Regions from separate parts of the Homo sapiens genome. Here regions 1, 2, 3, 4, 5 and 6 are each linked to region 7. The links are contacts of gene promoters, found by promoter capture Hi-C in blood cells and fetal thymus (Javierre and others, 2016). All regions are on one chromosome and are shown on one strand. The core of a region is centred on a gene start or on the middle of the fragment in contact, and the rest is flanking DNA. Distances in the headings are between cores, read along the strand shown. Region 1 has its middle 37 kb from the start of BAG3. Region 2 overlaps SEC23IP (SEC23 interacting protein). Region 3 overlaps MCMBP (minichromosome maintenance complex binding protein). Region 4 overlaps INPP5F (inositol polyphosphate-5-phosphatase F). Region 5 holds the start of SEC23IP (SEC23 interacting protein). Region 6 overlaps MCMBP (minichromosome maintenance complex binding protein). Region 7 holds the start of EIF3A (eukaryotic translation initiation factor 3 subunit A).

Evidence for each region. The method cuts DNA at HindIII sites, captures the fragments that hold promoters and counts their contacts. A CHiCAGO score of 5 or more calls a contact.
Region 1: a contact is called between a fragment that was not itself captured here and the fragment with the promoter of EIF3A in region 7, in 1 of 17 cell types (non-activated CD4 T cells). The highest score is 6.9, in non-activated CD4 T cells.
Region 2: a contact is called between a fragment that was not itself captured here and the fragment with the promoter of EIF3A in region 7, in 1 of 17 cell types (monocytes). The highest score is 5.8, in monocytes.
Region 3: a contact is called between a fragment that was not itself captured here and the fragment with the promoter of EIF3A in region 7, in 11 of 17 cell types (naive CD4 T cells, fetal thymus, non-activated CD4 T cells and 8 more). The highest score is 11.2, in naive CD4 T cells.
Region 4: a contact is called between a fragment that was not itself captured here and the fragment with the promoter of EIF3A in region 7, in 5 of 17 cell types (fetal thymus, neutrophils, non-activated CD4 T cells and 2 more). The highest score is 7.1, in fetal thymus.
Region 5: a contact is called between the fragment with the promoter of SEC23IP here and the fragment with the promoter of EIF3A in region 7, in 2 of 17 cell types (fetal thymus and naive B cells). The highest score is 9.0, in fetal thymus.
Region 6: a fragment that was not itself captured here is called in contact with the fragment with the promoter of EIF3A in region 7 in 2 of 17 cell types (naive CD8 T cells and non-activated CD4 T cells); the score reaches 7.0 in naive CD8 T cells.

What each region holds. Positions count from the first base shown.
Region 1 is chr10:119,686,652-119,689,351 of GRCh38, forward strand. No RefSeq gene overlaps it. Among named protein-coding and RNA genes, the nearest start is that of BAG3, 37 kb to the left of the region's middle. RefSeq lists enhancers at 1-921, 922-1,858. The HindIII fragment of the contact is 948 bases long and covers 832-1,779 here.
Region 2 is chr10:119,920,901-119,923,600 of GRCh38, forward strand. It overlaps SEC23IP (SEC23 interacting protein), which reads left to right. Exons shown (of 19, transcript NM_007190.4): 12 at 1-84. Among named protein-coding and RNA genes, the nearest start is that of SEC23IP, 30 kb to the left of the region's middle. RefSeq lists an enhancer at 925-1,094. The HindIII fragment of the contact is 1,492 bases long and covers 643-2,134 here.
Region 3 is chr10:119,860,945-119,863,644 of GRCh38, forward strand. All of the region lies in intron 1 of MCMBP (minichromosome maintenance complex binding protein), which reads right to left. Among named protein-coding and RNA genes, the nearest start is that of MCMBP, 11 kb to the right of the region's middle. The HindIII fragment of the contact is 4,934 bases long and covers 1-2,700 here.
Region 4 is chr10:119,726,944-119,729,643 of GRCh38, forward strand. All of the region lies in intron 1 of INPP5F (inositol polyphosphate-5-phosphatase F), which reads left to right. Among named protein-coding and RNA genes, the nearest start is that of INPP5F, 2.2 kb to the left of the region's middle. The HindIII fragment of the contact is 656 bases long and covers 999-1,654 here.
Region 5 is chr10:119,891,467-119,894,166 of GRCh38, forward strand. SEC23IP (SEC23 interacting protein) reads left to right here and starts at 1,264. Exons shown (of 19, transcript NM_007190.4): 1 at 1,264-1,479. The coding sequence starts at 1,317. RefSeq lists enhancers at 1-490, 491-1,001, 1,002-1,512. The HindIII fragment of the contact is 6,362 bases long and covers 1-2,700 here.
Region 6 is chr10:119,839,550-119,842,249 of GRCh38, forward strand. It overlaps MCMBP (minichromosome maintenance complex binding protein), which reads right to left. Exons shown (of 16, transcript NM_001256378.2): 11 at 1,294-1,411. Among named protein-coding and RNA genes, the nearest start is that of MCMBP, 32 kb to the right of the region's middle. The HindIII fragment of the contact is 3,624 bases long and covers 1-2,700 here.
Region 7 is chr10:119,079,554-119,082,253 of GRCh38, forward strand. It overlaps EIF3A (eukaryotic translation initiation factor 3 subunit A), which reads right to left and starts at 1,264. Exons shown (of 22, transcript NM_003750.4): 1 at 1,075-1,264. The coding sequence starts at 1,123. RefSeq lists a silencer at 729-988 and enhancers at 994-1,756, 1,184-1,478. The HindIII fragment of the contact is 5,277 bases long and covers 1-2,700 here.

The DNA of each region.
Region 1 (2,700 bases), core at 56-2,555, 610 kb after region 7:
GTAGGGGGCGCGTCGTGACTGCGCCTTCTGCTTTCACTCCCCGCGCAGGGAAATCCTGTCCTGCTCTCTCAGGGAGCAGTTCCTGACGGTGGGCTCCATTTTATAATAGAATGACTCACCTGAAGAATCACTTCTTTCATTATTTCGTATTCCTCACAATACCAGTGACACACAAAGGCTTTATTTGAAAAACCAAGTAAAGGAAACGAGCACAGGATGTCTGTGCTGGTCTGGTCGGCGTTTATCTCAGCTGGTGAGAACGCAGCCACGCCTCTGTTCACACTGTCATTCCTCCAATAAATAAGATATCCCTGTTTTCTAAAGTCAGGGAGATTTATGAGTCAGAAGTAATCGGATCCACAATCTGATTAGAATTCTATCCTCATAACGGGAGCTGACCGCATCCGCATCCATTTGTGGTCCGGCCCAGTCACCACTTGGTTGGTGTTCTAGCACTATAAGCCAGACTGTGGGGTGGGGGAAGGTGAGTGCTCCCCGCACTTTAATGCCGGGCTTATTTTTCCCTAAGGACCAGGATCGAAATAATGTTAACAGGAAAAACATGCTTCCTCGTATGAGACTGCAGTATTTCACCTTGTATGAGAAAGGAAAAATGAAGGGTGAGACCTGCTTGTTTCTTACATAACTAGGGAGAAATCCATCCCCCCTCTCACCCCGTAGCTCTTCCTGGTGGCAGTAATGATCAGAACCGGGAGTACCCAACTTCTTTCATGCTTGGGGGACTAGAGCTGCCCCCTCCATGCAGAATGGGCAAAGTAAGGGCAGAGGAGATCCATTAGCATCACAATAGGCCTAAAGCCTGCATTTGAAAGCTTCAAGAAAAGACTGAGAGGCAATCTCTTGCTGTTTCCCCTAAAGGCAGATTGGCAGATCAGTCCTCCTATCCGGAGCAGCTAGAAAAGCTGGCAAAACAAACAAGACCTATCTGAAGGTGAGCCGCCAAGGGGGTGAGGATTTGAGGGTCAAGGTCCTGGAGAGAAGGGTTAGCAGAGCTTTGAATTTTGAGGCATTTGCCTATTTCATGAGGCAGAGAAGCTCCCAGCAGTCTCATGCTAAGGAAGGAAGAGCTCAAGTAGTCGCCGCCAGCTTTCAACTTCCAAAGGGCCTCACCCTTTGGAAGGAACAGGAATGAAAATAGAGAAACTCTCACAAAGACTGAAACCCAGCTTCCCATTGGCTTACCGTTTGACTGTGTTACAGGAAAGGGGTCTTGATCCAGACCACAAGAGAAGGTTCTTGGATCTGGAGCAAGAAGGAATTCAGGGTGAGTCCATAGAGTAAAGTGAAAGCAAGTTTATCAGGAAAGTAAAGGAATAAAAGAATGGCTACCCCATAGGCACAGCAGCCCCGAGGGCTGCCGGTTGCCCATTTTTATGGTTATCTCTTGATGATATGCTAAACAAAGGGTGGATTATTCATGCCTCCCCTTTTGAGACCATATAGGGTAACTTCCTGATGTTGTTATGGCATTTGTAAACTGTCATGGTGCAAGTGGAGTGTGGCAGTGATGACAACCAGAGGTCACTGTTGTCACTATCTTGGCTTTGGTGGGTTTTAGCCGGCTTCTTTACTGCAACCTGGTTTATTAGCAAGGTCTTTATGACCTGTATCTTCTGCTGACCTCCTATCTCATCCCATGACTTAGATTGCCTAACCTTCTAGGAATGCAGCCCAGCAGGTCTCAGCCTTATTTTACGCAGCCCCTACTCAAGATGGAGTTACTTTGGTTCAAACGCCTCTGATAATTGGATTAGGGCAAGCTTTCGCAACCTCAGTGCTATTGACACTGATAAATTGACATTATCAGTGGACCATCCTATGCAATGTTTAGTATTCCTGGCTTTTAACCACTGGATGCCAGTAGCACCTCTCCTTCCCCAAATTCTGACAACCAAACTTTCTCCAGACATTGCCAAATGTCCCCTGGTGGGGAAAATCACCTGTGGTTGAAAACCACTGGATTAAGGGTGCCTGCCCAGACCCCAACTGCCTTCCAGAAGCAAAAATAAATCTTACTATCATCTAGGGCCTCAAATTATATCTGTAATTTTTCATACATGATATGCAGCACTTAATAAAGAACAAAGCTTTAAAATACATAACAAAGTTGACAGAACTAAAAAGAGAAATAGACAAATCCACAATCATAGTGGGAGATGTTAAGACACATTTCTGAGAAAATGATGGACTAAGCAGAAAAAAAAAATCAACAAGGTTAGGGTAACAGGGTAAACTACGGAGAGAAGTATCTGGAGGAAAAGAGAAAGGTATCAGGTCTGGGTGCGTGAAAGAGGGGTTGGCAGGAAGGGGGGTATTGAGCGCAGATGGAGAAATGGAGAGAAAAGGAGGGTCTTTGTGGGCCCCCTCTTTCTGGAGGCTTAATTCTATAAGACCTTTTCCGCATGAACGGTACAAGGGAACTGTGTCGTTTCCTTTGTTCCTTCATCCAGACTATACTGGCTGCTCTGTGAAATCTATCTGTACCTCCAGTCTGCCGGAGGCATGTGAACCAGAGCAACTTCACCTTGAATAGGAGCTGGGTAAAATGAGACTGAAACCTACTGCACTGCATTCCCAGAAGGTTAGGCATTCTAAGTCACACGATGAGATAGGAGGTCAGCACAAGATACAGGTCACAAAGACCTTGCTAATAAAACAGCCTGCAGTAAAGAAGCTGGC
Region 2 (2,700 bases), core at 139-2,638, 840 kb after region 7:
GTTGATGACCTGAAGGAAATGGGGATACCCCTTGGACCCAGAAAGAAGATAGCTAACTTTGTAGAACATAAAGCAGCCAAACTGGTAAAGTTCACCTCTGACTCAAGAAAAACTAAAACTCATGGTGTGACCAGCTCGTTTATATTATAGAAAATTTTAATACTACTATGGTTAGGTAAGCTAGTTTGCTCCCTACCTAGGGCACAGTAATGGAGCTGATGGAAACCCAGACTTAGGAGTCAGAGTTGGGCTTAAGTCCACATTAGGCTAAGTGACCATCCTGGTTTTCCTGGGACTAAGTTCCTAGGATGAAGGGCTTTCAGTTTTAAAATGGATATTTAAGGTTTTCCTGGTGCAAACAGTGGTTAAGTTCTGACAAATAAATTCTCAGCTCAACTGCTCATTAACTGCGTATTAATGAGCAATTTGTATTTGGTTTTATTCATTTGTTTATTTTGAGATGGGATCTTGCTGTGTTTCCCACTGCTGGTCTCAAACTCCTGGGCTCAAGCTATCCTCCCGCCTCAGCCTTCTGATCATGAGTGATTTTCTTAATTTTTCTGATCCTTTGTTTTCTTCATTTCTAAAATGGAATAATACCTTCCTTACAGGATTGGAGTAAGCATGAAATAATGCATGCAAAGCTTAGCACCAAGTAATAGCTCACTTTCTTCCCAGTCCTTACCATCTAAAGAGATGAGGAAAAACATACACACTGAAGTCTTAAACACTAAACAGCAAAAATTGTTAACAATACAAAACAAGGCAACAGCTAAAAAGCATTTAAAACTAGAACAACTGGAAAATATACTTGTTTTATTAATTTTAATTTATTGATCAAATTAATTTTACAGAGGTTTTCTAATTAGAAAAATTAGATGACTCTTAGGGTGGCCGTCTTATTTGTATTGTTATTAACATGCTCTTTGATGATCCTTCCATCTTTTGAATTTCTATGGTTCTATTATTTTACTACCTGTTTGGAACTTAACCTACATCATTTCTTTATATGGGAAATGACTATAAAGTCATAGGACTGATTTTTTTTTTAATGGTTAGCTTAAGGAATTGAGTCTTCTCAGCATTTTATTGAATAGCAGCTACCTCTTTTGAGTCAGGCACTGTGTTCAATTCTTGGGAGCCGGAGATTAACCAAGAGTGTGCTGTCTAGTTGCGGGGAGCACGTTGAGCTCAAATGACAACATACCAGCCCCATAATAGCGTGCTGTGTGTGCTGTCCTGAGGCAGATGAGAGGTGGCAGTTCTGGCTTGTTGAGACAAGCATGGGGTTGGTGAGAGAAGACTTCTCCAAGGTGATGGTGCTTGAGCTTGAAGGAGGGGTAAGGTCAGGGGAGATGGCCTTCTGGAATCTGGCATGTGTTTTCCTGTAGCATCAGGGAAGCTGGAAACTGGGAAGGGCAGAGGGTTCCAAAGGCCCAGGTGGCAGGTGTGGAGGCTTGGATTTTCTCTTGTAAGGGAGTGGTTTTCAAACATGTTCTTATGGCCATGAAAGTCATGGTGTTTTTAAACATTACAAAATGCTGACCTGCTTATTCTATCACAAGTTATGATTTAGCACCAAATCATCTGTGTAGTCTAAATTTTAATTTTAACTTTTGGACTGTGGAGAGTTTGCTTGGTCACAGTGCACAGATGAAGTTGGAAAGGCGTGAAGTGGAGGCGGCTGCAATCTTACATAGTAGTAATTGTAATTGTACAGTGACTGAAAGAGAGATGATAGGGGTATAAGGTAGGAGGTGGAGAGGAAGGGAGCAACTCAAAAGACATTTTAGACATAGACAAGCAGTATTTGATTAAGTGCTGAGAAAGGTTATTAGTTTTGGCAGTTAAGAGGTATCTTTCATGTCATTTTTCTTGTGTGTTGAATCGTTCTGTAATTCCAATTTACAAAGAGCTTTTCATCTCACCTGAGCCTCACAACAACCCTGTGAGTAGATCCCCAGGCTTTTGTCTCTGATGAGCACAATAGTCAAACTGAGACTAGGACACAAGCATGTCAGTGTTGTTTCTGTATACAGGCTGCGTGCTCCATACAGAAAAATGCTTGTCTCCGTGTATACATCAGTGAAGCAAAAGCCTATAAAAAAAAAAACAAAAAAAACAAGAAATGAGAAGCTTTGTGTTCAGGCCCTACACCATGTTCTTAATTTATTCTGTAATGAAAGGGAAAAAAGTAGAAAAGGATTCTATAGTTCTTGAAGAATTTCTAGAAGGAGACTGGTTTATGGACTGCAGTTGCTTAGATATATAAATTATGGCATTATAAGAATGTTTTGAAATGAGCAAAAATCTATAGAGTGATCTTATTTTTTAAATTAAAAGGTAATTGCCTTTGGATGAACCATGAAACTTTCTCAGCTGAGTTGCCATTGATTGCTTTACACTTCTTACAGATAACAAGGTGCTACTAGATCAATACAAAAGTAATATGGTGTGTCCTGTTGATTTACTGTAACTGAAATAATGGGACCAAAATTAGCGATTATTTTATAACAAGGAGATCAAATATTTGTGATATTTGTGACTGTGTGCTTTTTTTTTCTTTTTAAAGCATCTTAGTAATTTTCATTTGAAAAGGAATTGTTTCTAGTGTTGGGGATATTGATAGTCAAGTATGTATATGTTGGTTCCGTTTTTTTTTTTTTGAAAGGGAGTCTTGCTTTGTCTCCCAGGCTGGAG
Region 3 (2,700 bases), core at 65-2,564, 780 kb after region 7:
TGTGTAGTTACTATTTACTCCTTACAATTAACAAGCCATCTACAGCAGGCACTTATGGGAACTGGCCAAGACCAAAAAGTGAGCTATTGACGGAATACAGATTTATGTGAACTAAAACCACCAAACCACACAGCTGGCCAATCCTGCTGTTTATATTCATCACACAAGTGTTATGAAGATTTGGAGTAAAAAATAAAAAGTCTACACTTGTTATGGAGCTGCATCTGTTGAAAAGGACCATAAAATCCTAACACCATGTTTGAGCAGGACTTCCAAACACGTTTACTTAACTGGACAAGGGCCAGTTGTGAAAAAGAAGTAGGGATGGGGGACTCCTCAGGTGATACTAATGTGTAGGCGTTAAATCCACTAACAAACTAGTCCTCAAAGTTGGTTCCCTGACCAGCATCATTAGCATCATCTGAGTACTTGTTAGAAATGCAAATTATTCAGCCCAACCCCGAACCACAGAATCAGAAACTCTTAGGGGTGGGGCCTAGCAATTCATATTTTAAAAAGCCCTCTATGTGACTGACTATAATGCACATTGAAGTTTAAGAATCGCTGCTCTACTAGATACAGTGAATTGGGTAAAAGATAAGTGGGTATTTTCGCTTGTATTCAAAATGGATGTTTAAAGAAAAGACTATTACACAGCCACGACTGCCACACCAACTATTCTGCCTGCAATTGTGTAAAAGACGTGAGAATACCACATAACAAATAGTAAAGCTACATCAAGCAGTGACTGGGGAGCAGCAAGTTATTTCTAAGTTACTTGAATGTATATAAATGCAATTTTCTTTTTTCAGGCAGGGTGTTGTGTTGCTTTGTCACCCAGGATGGAGTACAGTGGTGTGATCCTGGCTCACTGCAACCTTAATTTCCTGGGCTCAAGTGATCCTCTGGCCTCAGTCTCCTGCGTAGCTGGGACCACAGGCACGGGCCACCACGCCTGGCTAATTTTTAAATCTTTTTGTAGAGATGGAGGTCTCCCTATGTTGTCCAGGTTGGTCTGGAACTCCTGGGCTCAAGTGATCGATCCTCCTGCCTCTGCACTTAAAATGAAAAAATCCTCTTGGCTGGGTGCGGTGGCTCACACCTGTAATTCCAGCACTTTGGGAGGCCAAGGCAGGCGGATCACCTGAGGTCAGGAGTTCGAGACAAGTCTGGTCAATATGATGAAACCCCTTTTCTACTAAAAATACAAAAATTAGCTAGGCGTGATGGTGTGCGCCTGTAATCCCAGCTACTTGGGAGGCTGAGGCAGGAGAATCGCTTGAACCTGGGAGGTGGAGGTTGCAGTGGGCCAAGATTGCCCCATTGCACTCCAGCCTGGGCGACTAGAGTGAATCTTCGTCCCCCCCCACACCACCTCCTCCACCACGCAAAAAGAAAAAATTATCAAGACACTGGATTCCTCCAGACTCCATGTGTGTCCTTAGGATCCAACTATGTATCCTTACCATATTGCTGCAATAAATCTTAGGAGGAGTACAACTATACAGTGAATCATATAAGTCCTAGTAAATCTTCAAGCATATGGGTGGTTATAGGACTCCCCAACACATTTGTATATCAATACTTCATTTCTTTTTATTCCTATTATTCCTCTGAATAACAACCAATTTGTTTATGTATTTGCTTGCTGAAGGACATTTAGATTGTCTTCAGGTTTGACAACTATAAACAAAACTATAAAACACGTGTCTGCAGGTTTTCATGTGAACATGAGCTTTCATTTCTCTAGAATGAGTATCTAGATATGACACAGTTGAGTACATGGTAAATGTATGATTAAGATTCTACCTGTCTTCCAGAGTGGCTGCACCATTTTGCTAAGAGATCCAGCTGTTCCCATCCTTGCCAGTACTTAGTACTATCACTATGTATTTTTAAATTTTAGCTGTTCTAATATGCAATATCATGGCTTAAATTTGCATTTCCCTAATGGCTAACAATGCTGAACTCTTCTCAGGGGGATATTTGCCATCCTTGTATCCTATCTGGTGAAATGTCTATTTAAGCCTACTTAAATCTTTTGCCCCTTTTAAAATTGAGTTTTTAAATTACTGCTGTGTTTTCTTATATATTCTGGATTCAAGTTCTTTTTCTGATACCGGATTTTCAAATATATTCTCCCAGTGTATAGCTTGTCTTTTCATGCTCCTAATAGAATTTTTTTTTACAGAACAAAGGTTTTTAATTTTGATGAAGCCCAATTTATCAAATTTTTGTTTTACGCACTGTGCCTTCGGTGTCATGTCTTAAGAACTCATTGCCAAACCCCAGGTCACAAAGATCTGTTTTCTTCTAAAAGTTTTATAGTTTCAGGTTTTATACTCAGATGTATGATCCATTTTGAGTTAATTTTATATAAAATATGAGGTAAAGGTTGAGGATTTTATTTTTCCATGTAAATGTTAAATTGTTCATGTCTTTGATGAAAAGAATATCCTTTTTCCATTTGAATTAGCTTTTGTATCTTTATTAAAATGCAGCGAGGGCCAGGCGGGGTGGCTCACGCCTGTAATCCCAGCACTTTGGGAGGCCGAGGCGGGCGGATCACCTGTCAGGAGTTCAAGACCAGCCTGGCCAACATGGCAAACCCCCGTCTCTACTAAAAATACAAAAATTAGCCGGGCGTGGTGGCACACGCCTGTAATCCCAGCTACTCGGGAGGGTGAGACAGGAGAATTG
Region 4 (2,700 bases), core at 77-2,576, 650 kb after region 7:
GTAATGTATAATTTTGAGATTTTTGTGTGACTTGATGTTGTGCGACACAAAATGTATTGTGGGTCCATGTTTGGGTGTCATGTAAGCTGTTCGGAGAGGCTTAAGTCTGCAATTAGCTTGCTTTAGGAAAATGTGTGTGCAGTCGTGGTTTAAACAGAGCAGTCCCTGCCCTCAGAGCGCTGACAGTCCAGTTTCTTGTAAGATGGGGCTGGGTGGCACCTGCCCCTTTTGGCTTGCTAATCCTTTCCTCATATCACTCAGAGATTCTTCCACTTTAGGGAAAGCGAGAGGATAGAGTTCTTTAAGGAAGGAGCCAGAGCTTTTCAGACTTACTTGTAATTCTTATGTGCAGTCTAGACAGAAGGATTACATGATATGAATTGAAAAGGATAAAAGGTTCAGATGAGCTTTTCAGATCACAGCGTGGTATCACTTATAGGATGGTTTTTAAGGACAGGCCCTTTAACATATTATTTCCAATCCCCACAGCAACCTTACAGGACACGTGTGGGATCCTCTTTTTCAGGTGAGGAGAAAGGAGTGAGAGGTTATTAGTAACTCGTTCGGGGTCACAGCCTAGAGTTGAGACACTGACACAGGGCAGTTCTGTGACCTCCAGAACACTTTTGGGCAGGCCCCACTGCTTTCTTAGGAAGGCCTACTAGTTGCTTTGCCAGAGCAGTGAAGGATAACTTATTTTTTTCCTCAGGCTCTGTCTATATTTTCTTGCTATTACGTTGTATTTCCTCTTTTCAGAATGGAGGATAAACTCCTTGGCCCAGATAAAGTTCTTGATGATCTCGGGATAGAGTTATTATGGATAGGCTAATTTTGGCCAGTCTTCTGTCATTCTCTTCTCTGATTTGACCATTTGTCTGGCTTTCTCCCCTTCCCTCCTTTCACTCCCCCAAATTTGGGTAAGGCTTCAGTACAGCTTGAAGTAAAGCAGATTTCAAAATTCCTAGGTTGTCAAAAGAGTCAACTCCTTGGATTCTAAAAGCTTAGACTATTAGAACTGGATGGGACTTAAGATCGTCTCCAACTCATCTGACAACAAACTTTTCTACACCCCAGTTTCTTGAACTATAAAGGCTAACCTGCGCCTAGATTCTTGGATGAAGCCATGCAGTTTGGATTACTGTTTGTTCAAAGTCCATGTCAGAAGGCAAATTTAAAACTTTTTTGGGGGAGGAAAGTAGCTATAGCCTTTGCACTTGAGATTGGCATACTTTTTAGAATATAGCGGGCCACAGACCAAGTAGACCAAATGTCTGGAGGAAGGAAGAGGCCATGTTTCAGAAGTAACAGCCAGTTTTGATCTTAAGGTGTTCAGGATAGCCAGGGAATAAAGAATCCCATGCACTTGATTTTCCTATAGTTTATCCTGTCCAGGACTGAAGATCCTTTCTAACTAATGGCTATTTAAGAATGGCATTTTAATTGAATAAGTGCTTTTCAGATCTTTTTCTGTATATGGAATCATTTAAAATTCTCTTTATTTTATTGGACTTTTCCCCTGTGCTTTTATGGCAAGTTTTGCTGCTGTTTGTAGTGACAGCATTTAAAATCTTTCATTGTTTCCTACTGGTTATTTAGCTGAATAGATTACTAAGTCCTTTTCTTTTTTGAAAGGGCAGTATTATAAGCTCAAAAAAGCTTGTGGGCATCGTGGTTTTTACATTCGTGACTATTGAACAACCTGAAACAAGAGTTTTCCTTTTTCTAGAGACATCAGAAGGATAAGTAATGATGATATTTAAGATTAAAATACTCATTTATTTAGCCTGGAATGTTTGTTACTGTCAACCCCTTTTCCTACCTAGTCCATTCCATAAGACCCAGCTCAGATGCTACCCCTCATCCTTGGGGCAGAATTATTGGCCACCTTTATTGTGTTTCCAGGCATTTTCTACACTTAGTGGACACTTCAATTCTAACCCTTATGCATCATCATAATAAAAGTTTGCCTACTTCTTCCCCGGTGGGAAGTCCCAGTGTGTTCCCCAAGGCAAGGGCTGTATTTACTCCTCATCTTGGTGTCTCTAGGCTTTAGAGTACTTAGGACAGAGAAGGCGTTTTTGTTTGAGTTGAGCTGAATTAAAGTTAAGTCTAAGTTCTCTCTCAGTAATATCATTGCCTTAAAAATAAGATGTTGTATTATGTTTGTTGCTCTTTTTAGGCCTGTTTTTTTGGGGGAGGGGGAAAGGGCGGGGCGGGCAGTGGACAGAGTCTTGCTCTGTTGCCCAGGCTGGAGTGCGGTGGCGTGTTCTCGGCTCACTGCAACCTCTGCCTCCTAGGTTCAAGCGATTCTCCTGTTTCAGACTTCTGAGTAGCTGGGACTACAGGTGTGTGCCACCTCACCCAGCTAATTTTTGTATTTTTTGTTAGAGATAGGGTTTCGCCATGTCGGCCAGGCTGGTCTCAAACCCCTGACCTCAGGTGATCTGCCCACCTCGGCCCCCCAAAGTACTGGGATTATAGGCTTGACCCACTGCGCCTGGCCTCTTTTTAGGGCTGTTTTGAATATATTTTAATTGGAGTGGAAAATCTCTGTCCATTTGGATGAGGAAATATGAGGAAAGGTACACCTGCACTTGTGTTATATTTCTATCTGATGTAGCATTATCTCATTATCTTTTTTTTTTTTTTCTGAGACAGGGTCTTGCTCTGTCACCCAGGCTGGAGTGCAGTGGCGTGATC
Region 5 (2,700 bases), core at 14-2,513, 810 kb after region 7:
TAAGTCAGCTTACTGTGGATATAGAAAGCTATCTAAAATGTCAGATCTCTAATTTCAATGCCCTGGTTTCTTTTTTTTTCTTTTTTTTTTTTTTAAGGAGACAGGGTCTCGCTGCACAGTGAGTGGCAAGATCAGGGTTAATTTGGCCTCAAGCAATATTCCCGCCTCAGCCTCCTGAGTAGCTGGCAATATAGGTGCTATGCCACCAAGCCCGGCTAATTTTTGTATTTTTAGTAGAGACGGGGTTTCACCATGTTGGCCAGGTTGGTCTCAACCTTCTGGGCTCAAGCTATCCTCCCGCTCTGCCTCACAAAGTGCTGGGATTGCAGGCCTGCGCCATGGCGTCTGGTTTGATTTCTCTTTTAAATATTTTTTTTGGCCAGGCGTGGTGGTTCATGCCTATAATCCCAGCAGTTTGGGAGGCCAAGGCGGGCAGATCACGAGGTCAGGAGATTGAGACCATCCTGGCCAACCCGGTGAAACCTCGTCTTTACTAAAAATACAAAAAATTAGCCAGGCGTGGTGGCGGACGCCTGTAGTCCCAGCTACTCGGAGGCTGAGGCAGGAGAATCGCTTGAACCCGGGAGGCGGAGATTGCAATGAGCCCAGACTGCACCGCTGCACTCCAGCCTGGGCGACACAGCAGACTTGTCTCAAAACAAAAAACAAAACCAACCAAAAAAACAAAAAACAAATGCAAAACAAAAAACAACAAAAATAAAACGAAATATTTTTTTCTCCCTATGGATTAAACACTTAAAAAATGTTTTACCACTTCTATTTCTGGGTCAACCACAATGTTCGGTTCCATCCAGAAAGACAAGTGGGTTTTGGAGAGGGTGTTTGGTTCCGCCTAGCATGCGAATTCCCATTCCCGCACAACGCTCTTCCTCCCTTCCTCCTTCCGGTAGCGTCCAGCAGGATTCCGCTGTTCCTCCAAAATCTTTGTCAGGAGAGCCATCCTGACGGTACCTTTAGGAAGCCCATAGATACCCGCCACAACCTGTGACTTTCAGGGTCAATTGCGTCTCAATTCGCACGTCTATCCAGAACCTGCGGGGACCACGTCCCCATCCTCCCGCCCGGCCTCCGCCTCCGAGGGTGTCACGTGCTAGACGCGGGCGTGAAGACAGTGTCGCCATGTTGATATCTGGCGTCGCCGTGTAGGGGAAGGGAGAGGGCGGCTGACTAGCTACCCGTAATTTCGGCTCCTGTGCGCAAGTGCGGAAGTGCGCTGGCCAGGAGCGTGATCGGTTTCCGGTCAGTGGTGTGGTACCGGGTACCCGGAGACGTGTATCGGACGGTGGGCCGCAGCCATGGCCGAGAGAAAACCTAACGGTGGCAGCGGCGGCGCCTCCACTTCCTCATCGGGCACTAACTTACTTTTCTCCTCCTCGGCCACGGAGTTCAGCTTCAATGTGCCCTTCATCCCAGTCACCCAGGCCTCCGCTTCTCCGGCCTCCCTGCTCTTACCGGGAGGTAATAAGGGGAGGGCGGCCCCGTGTGTGGTGGGAGGCGGGCGGGGGACGTGCAATGACAAAGGTCAGACGGGAGTTTTTCCTTCTGCCTCGAGCTACCCTCTGGATAGCTTGCCAGGATCATTACTGGCCAGGTTTGAGTGGGTCGGGGGCTTTGGGATCTTGGAGGTGGCAGGTGATGAGACTTGCTCTTCACGGAAACCCCCTGTTCCGAGTTGTCCAGAGTGCTGGACATTCATTCGTACCCTGGCATTCCGCAAATCTTTGCTGAATACCCGTTGTTGGTACGCCAGGTGCTGGCAGGAAATGCAAATAAATTAAACAGTGGCCCTCTCCTAGGGTACAGTAGTCTGTCTCCCACTAGGAGACTCCTAGGATACGGTAAGATACCTCCTAGGATGGACTGTGCCCCTCTCCTAGGATACGGTACACTGTCTCCTACTAGGAGATTGTTGTGATACAGTACAATATCTTCTAGGTTACAGTAAGATATCTTATAAGATGGACTGTGCCCCTCTTCTAGAAGCCTGTAATATTTGTGAAGTAGACATATACAATGCATTCCTTATCTTTTTTTTTTTTTTTTTTTTTTTGAGACGGAGTCTTGCTCTGTCGCCCAGGCTGGAATGCAGTGGCGCGATCTCGGCTCACTGCAGCCTCCACCTTCCAGGTTCAAGTGATTCTCCTGCCTCAGCCTCCCGAGTAGCTGGGACTACAGGCGTCTGCCACCATGCCTGGCTAATTTTTGTATTTGTAGTAGAGACAGGGTTCCACCATGTTGGCCAGGATGGTCTCAATCTCCTGACCTCAAGTGATCCGCCTGCCCTGGCCTCCCAAAGTGCTGGGATTACAGGTTTAACCCCCCACCCATTCCTCATCTTTCAAGACAATACATCACTTCTTCCAAGAAGCTGTTTCTTGTTCTCTTAGGCCCCCACTCCTATGTGCACTCCTAGCTCTTTTTTCATATTTGTATTATTGTCCAGGGAGATTGCTTTTTGATGATTATGTAGCATTGCCCAGAGCATAGTGTTTAAGAGCACAGACTGTCTGTATTCCAGTCCTTGCCCTGCCAGTAACTTGCTGTGTGACTGTAGGCATTTTACTTTACCTCTCTGTGCTTCAGTTTCTATGTATGTGTAGCCTCACAGAATTGTAATTAGAAATGCTTTAATTTTTGCAAAGCGCTAAGTATAGTGCGTGCCAGACAGTGTGATTTAAT
Region 6 (2,700 bases), core at 96-2,595, 760 kb after region 7:
TCTGTGAGGGCAAAGGATCTGTTTCAATAATTCTCAAAATGTGGTCCCGAGAACCCCCAGGGAATTGCTTAAACCCTTTTACAGGGTCAATCAGGTCAAAATCATGCATGGATAAAAGATCCTTTCAATGTGCGAGACTAATGAATTTTACCATAGCAGACTATGGAAAGTTTACGAATAGGATTTCAGATTCCACACTTAACTATCTTTAAGAAAATCTCATGTGGACAGTTTTGGTCTAGTATCAAAGACCACCACCCAGTTATCTGCAAAGGCTATCGAAACCATCCTTCCTTTACCATCTACTTTTCCATCTGTGTGAGGCCAGCTTTCCTTCATATACTTCAACCAAAACCTGAGACTACAATAGACTGAAGGCAGAAGCAGATACAAGCATCCATTGTCTCCTATTAATCCAGACATTGAAGAGATTTGCAAGAATGTAAAACAATGTCACCTTTATCACTAATCATTTTTGGCTTGGGAAAAGTTGTTTTTATAAAAATATTTATATGTAATTTTTTATTTTTAATAGGTGTATTTACTTTATCTTCTAGTTTGGTAAATTAATGATAAATATAATCATAACGTGAAAAACAGCTCTTTGAGTATGAACACATTTTTCAGAGTGTAAAGTGAGTCTAAGGAGACTGAGAACTGCTGGTATATTCCAGTCCACTTCTGCTTCTTGAGGGCCTGGACGAGTGTTAGCACTGAGACACTGAATACATTCGGTTCAATAAAGATCTAGTGCACCCTCTTCAATTTCCAAAGAAGTGATCAGTATTTTCAGTCACACAACTAATCAGAAGCAATTCCCCTGTTCCCAAGATCCTACCACCACGCAAATACTGCATTCCAGATACCCTGGCAAATAAAGTGAGCTCAACTTTCCAAACAGGAATTAAAATTGAGGCAATGGAGATAAAGAACTTTATTACCTCAACTAAAAGAATTATGCTCCTACAATTTAGAGTTTATTTAGATTTAAGACTTTAGTGTACAAAAAGGATACCAAATTGGACAAATTGGTATCAAGAGAGTGTAATTTTAAGGGAGTTACTACAATTGTTTTGTTAGACTTACAGAAATTTGTGCTTAGGCAAAAAGACAAAAAAAAGTGAAATGTTTAGGGGAACGTACATTTTAAATTATGTAATTTGGCAGGCTTTGTTTCCCCTTAAATAAGATCTATTAAAATCTCTAAGTTAAATATTTGAAGTGAATGAAAGACAGTTAGATGGATTTTTTAAGTGTGCTTAGGTTTATAATACATATTTATATTCATCTTACTGCTGGAACAAGATGTTGAATAATTCGATACAAGTGTTCTGTGAAGGTACTATTCCGTGGGCAACCACTCAAGTTAACTGTAAATTTTCCTAGTGGAAGGACATCTCTTCTTGTATATCTAGAAAAGAAAGAAATCAATCAATAAGATGCTGAAGTGACTTCCTGATTTCTATCAAATAGCGAAGAATAGAAAAATTAGCTTAATATTGTCATTAAAAATAAACCAGAATATTCTGACCAGTTATTTTATCAGAATAACAGCAATAAAAGTAATAGCCAATATTTGTACGTAAGTGCTGCTGGTCACGTGCCAAAGACCGTTCTGAGTATGTAAATGCTTCCTCATTTAACCCCTAACCATTCAGCGGTAGGTGCTGTTGTCTTTGCTTCACAGATGAGAAATCCGAGGCACAGAGATGATAATAAGCAACATGTTCATCTAAATGGAAGCTGACAGAGCTGGGATATGAATCCGGGTAGTTTGGTTCCAGAGCCTGTGCTCTCAACCATTATGTACTACTGTCACAGACTGATTTGAGAAAAGATAAGATTTACAGCACAAAGATGTTTCCTGCAACTTTATAATAGAGAAAAGCTAGGAAAAGCTAACATTTAGGGAAATGGTTACAGTATGGTACAACTGCATAGTGAAATACTTTGCAGCCACTACAAAGTTCATGAAGCATTATGATGGGAAAATGTTTAATATATATCAACTGCTGAAAACAAGACACGCATCTGTGCTTAGAGTGTAACTAAGACCTATGCAAGGATGTATACATATGTAAACAAAAACCAATGAACATGTACCTAAAGGTTAACGGAGGTTCTAAGTGGTGAAATTACAGATGATGTGCATTTTCCTCCTTATGTTCTTGGAACTTGTCAAAGGCCCACACTAGTTTTAAAATGAGAAACAAAGAAATACAGTGGAGTCAAGGGATGCGGTGCTAGTGTCAATGTCCACGTTAAACGTGCACATGACGTGGGCGCCTTGGGATGTATAAACAGAGCGTTCAGAATGCAAAAGGGATAAAACAGCTCATTTTACTCATCAGCCAGGTCCTTTATCTCAGGGGTCCCCAACGCCCAGGCCGTGGACCAGTACTGGTTCATGGCCTGTTAGGAACCGGGCCACAACATAGGAGGTGAGGGGTGGATGAGTGGGCATTACCGCCTGAGTTCCGCCTCCTGTCAGATCAGCAGTGGCATCAGACTCTCACAGGAGCGCGAACCCTATTGTGAACTGCACATCTGTGTGTTCCCTATGAGAATCTAACTAATGCCTGATGTTCTGAGGTGGAACGGTTTCATACTGAAACCATCCCCACTCCGGTCCATGGAAAAATGGTCTTCCATGAAATGGGTCCTTGGTGCCTAAAAGGTTGGGGACCACTGCTTTATCTG
Region 7 (2,700 bases), core at 14-2,513:
CCTAACGATTAGAAAAATTGTCCGGTTAGAGGGGAAAAAAAAAACCCTACACAAAGTTTCTTAAGCCCAGAGCCTAGCCAAGAACATGTGCATCCCCAGAACGCCAATGTAATAAATGCCTTGGAGAGATCGGGGCACACAAGTTTTTCCCTCAAGCGCCAATGGCTGAAGTACACATATAGAAATAGAAATCGCAGACAGCAGCACTGTGGCAGAAAAAAAGAGAAAAAAGGACTGATCTGGATGTCAAGAGACGTTGGTTTTAAGTCTCTTGGCTCAACAACTCCCGGAGTGACCTTGGGGAAACCTCTCTCTAGGCCTGTTTCGTTATCTTTAAGAGGCGACCTGAAGTCCCTTTACATTAACTCTATTCCAACTTCCAGTGATTCGAAACAGGCTTTAGGACTGCTTCTAATCAATGCCAGGAAAAATGAAAAAACAAAAACAAAACAAAACAACAGGAATCAGGTTAAATGGGTCAGAGGCCCCTAAGTGGATATAAAGCAGCTGGGTAAAGGGTAAGTGGACGCCGACCCAGCAAAGCACTGAGCGCGGCTTGGAGAGCGGGGGTGGCTGCGGGAAGGCCGGGGGTGGGTCCGTAGGGCTCCCGGCCCGGGCAGGAGGTGGAGCCGAGGCTCTCGCGTGCATTGTCCCCGGGAGGGAGCCATGTTTCTTACTCCCCGGCACTCCCAGATGGCGGCCGGGGACGCGGGCCCTAAGCAGACCAAAGCCCCAGGGACCTGGAGAGCCAGAGGACGCAGGCAGCAAGGAGGGAGCTCCAGTCCGGGTAGGGGCTGTCTCCCGGGCTGCGGTCCCCGCGACGCACCCGGAGGCGGCAGGGGGAAGGAAAGGCCCCTGGGGCGACGGTTCCGGGCTACGCGCCTCCCAGACCCCAGTCGATAGAGTGAGAAGGAAACCCATGCCCAACCACCGGCTGGGACAGCGGCGGGCAGGCCGCATCGGTCTCCTCTCCCCGCGCGGGCCGGGCGGCGGAGCAGTGGGAAGCAGGCCCGCGCTCTCGACCTCGGAGGCCTCGGGCCGCCCCAGCCCGGCGCGCCCCGATCAGCTACTCACCGTTGGCGCGTTTGAGGGCATTTTCCGGCCTCTGAAAATAGGCCGGCATCTTGGCGGCAGGCTCAGCTCACCCGGCGTCAGCGAACTCTCTAGTGGCCCGGGCCGGGAGAGGAGACGAAGGGGAACCAGCGTAAGGTCCCACGCGCCTCGCCAGCAGTCGCCCGCGCCCAGCCGGCCAGAGACGGAAAGGAAGGAGCCACGTGACCTCCCCGCGGCGGCCCTGCTGCCGCCCAGGCCCCGGATGTAGGGGGCGGGTCTCCGTGCGCGCAAGCGCGCTGGCGTCACGCACGCCGACAGACGTGGCGGCGCCGGAGTCCTAGGCGCGCAAGGTCCAGTTCCCGTCTTGGGCCTGTCCTGGATAGCGTTAGGGAGACAGTTCACAGGCTCTTCAATCTTCGAGCGAGAATTAGGGTGGGAAGGGTGAGTGTGGGGTCAGAGTTTCTGTCTGGAGAACAAGCAAACGTCTGCAGATTGGTTTTCAAAGCGACTTGTGCGGAGTCGTGCAGTTACAGTAAGGTCCCATCCAGCCTGGGAATCGCCTGTCTTGGCTACGTGAAAATGCTGAGTTTAACGAAAACGCAGTGAGCAGGTGTCATCAGGTCAGCGCCGCTCAACCGTGAGAGACAATCATGGGGAAGAGTGACGCCTAAAATAAACAAGCAAGGTTCTTTTATATCTTGGTAAAGTAAAAAGTTTGTGTCACAGGGATTGCCTTGAGAAATGGAGGCTCTCAGAGGGGGCGAATGGGGACAGCGACCTGGCAAAGGGCGAAACGCCCTGGAGCACAGCAGACTTGCTTGGTGTTTGAAAACACACGGAAAGGAGTGTCGTCACTTTTTACATACAGCGCACGTCACAAACAAATTAAGAAAAATTAGTGTTAGTGAAAAAAATCAATCTGAGAGGCCCTTTTATTGTTGCTTAACAATTTTAATGTTCGCAGACGAAGTACTTTACCTAGAATTTGAAAACCATTTGAACCGAATCTAATTCTCAAGCCCTTGGTACGAAATAAAGGTGAGCTCAGAAGGAAAAAAATTTTTTTTTTTTTTGAAACGGAGTCTCGCTTTGTCGCCCAGGCTGGAGTGCAGTGGCACGATCTCGGCTCACTGCAAGCTCCGCCTTCTGGATTCACGCCATTCTCCTGCCTCAGCCTCCCGAGTAGCTGGGACTACAGGCGCCCGCCACTGCGCCCAGCTAATGTTTTGTATTTTTAGTAGAGACGGGGTTTCGCCGTGGTCTCGATCTCCTGACCTCGTGATCCGCCCTCCTCGGCCTCCCAAAGTGCTGGGATTACAGGCGTGAGCCACCGCGCCCAGCCCAGAAGGAAAATTTAGAAGGCAGCAGTGAAATAGATTATTGTCAATGTATTACACATTTAATAGACGAGATATGTGAATTAATGAATGAGGAAATCGGCCGGGCATGGTGGGTCGCGCCTGTAATCCCAGCACTTTGGGTGGCTGGGGCGGGTGGATCACCTGAGGTCAGGAGTTCGAGACCAGCTTGGCCAACATGGCGAAACCCCGTCTCTACTAAAAATACAAAACTTAGGCCTGGCGTGGTGGCTCACGCCTGTAATCCAGGCGCTTTGGGAGGCCGAGGCGGGCGGATCACGAGGTCAGG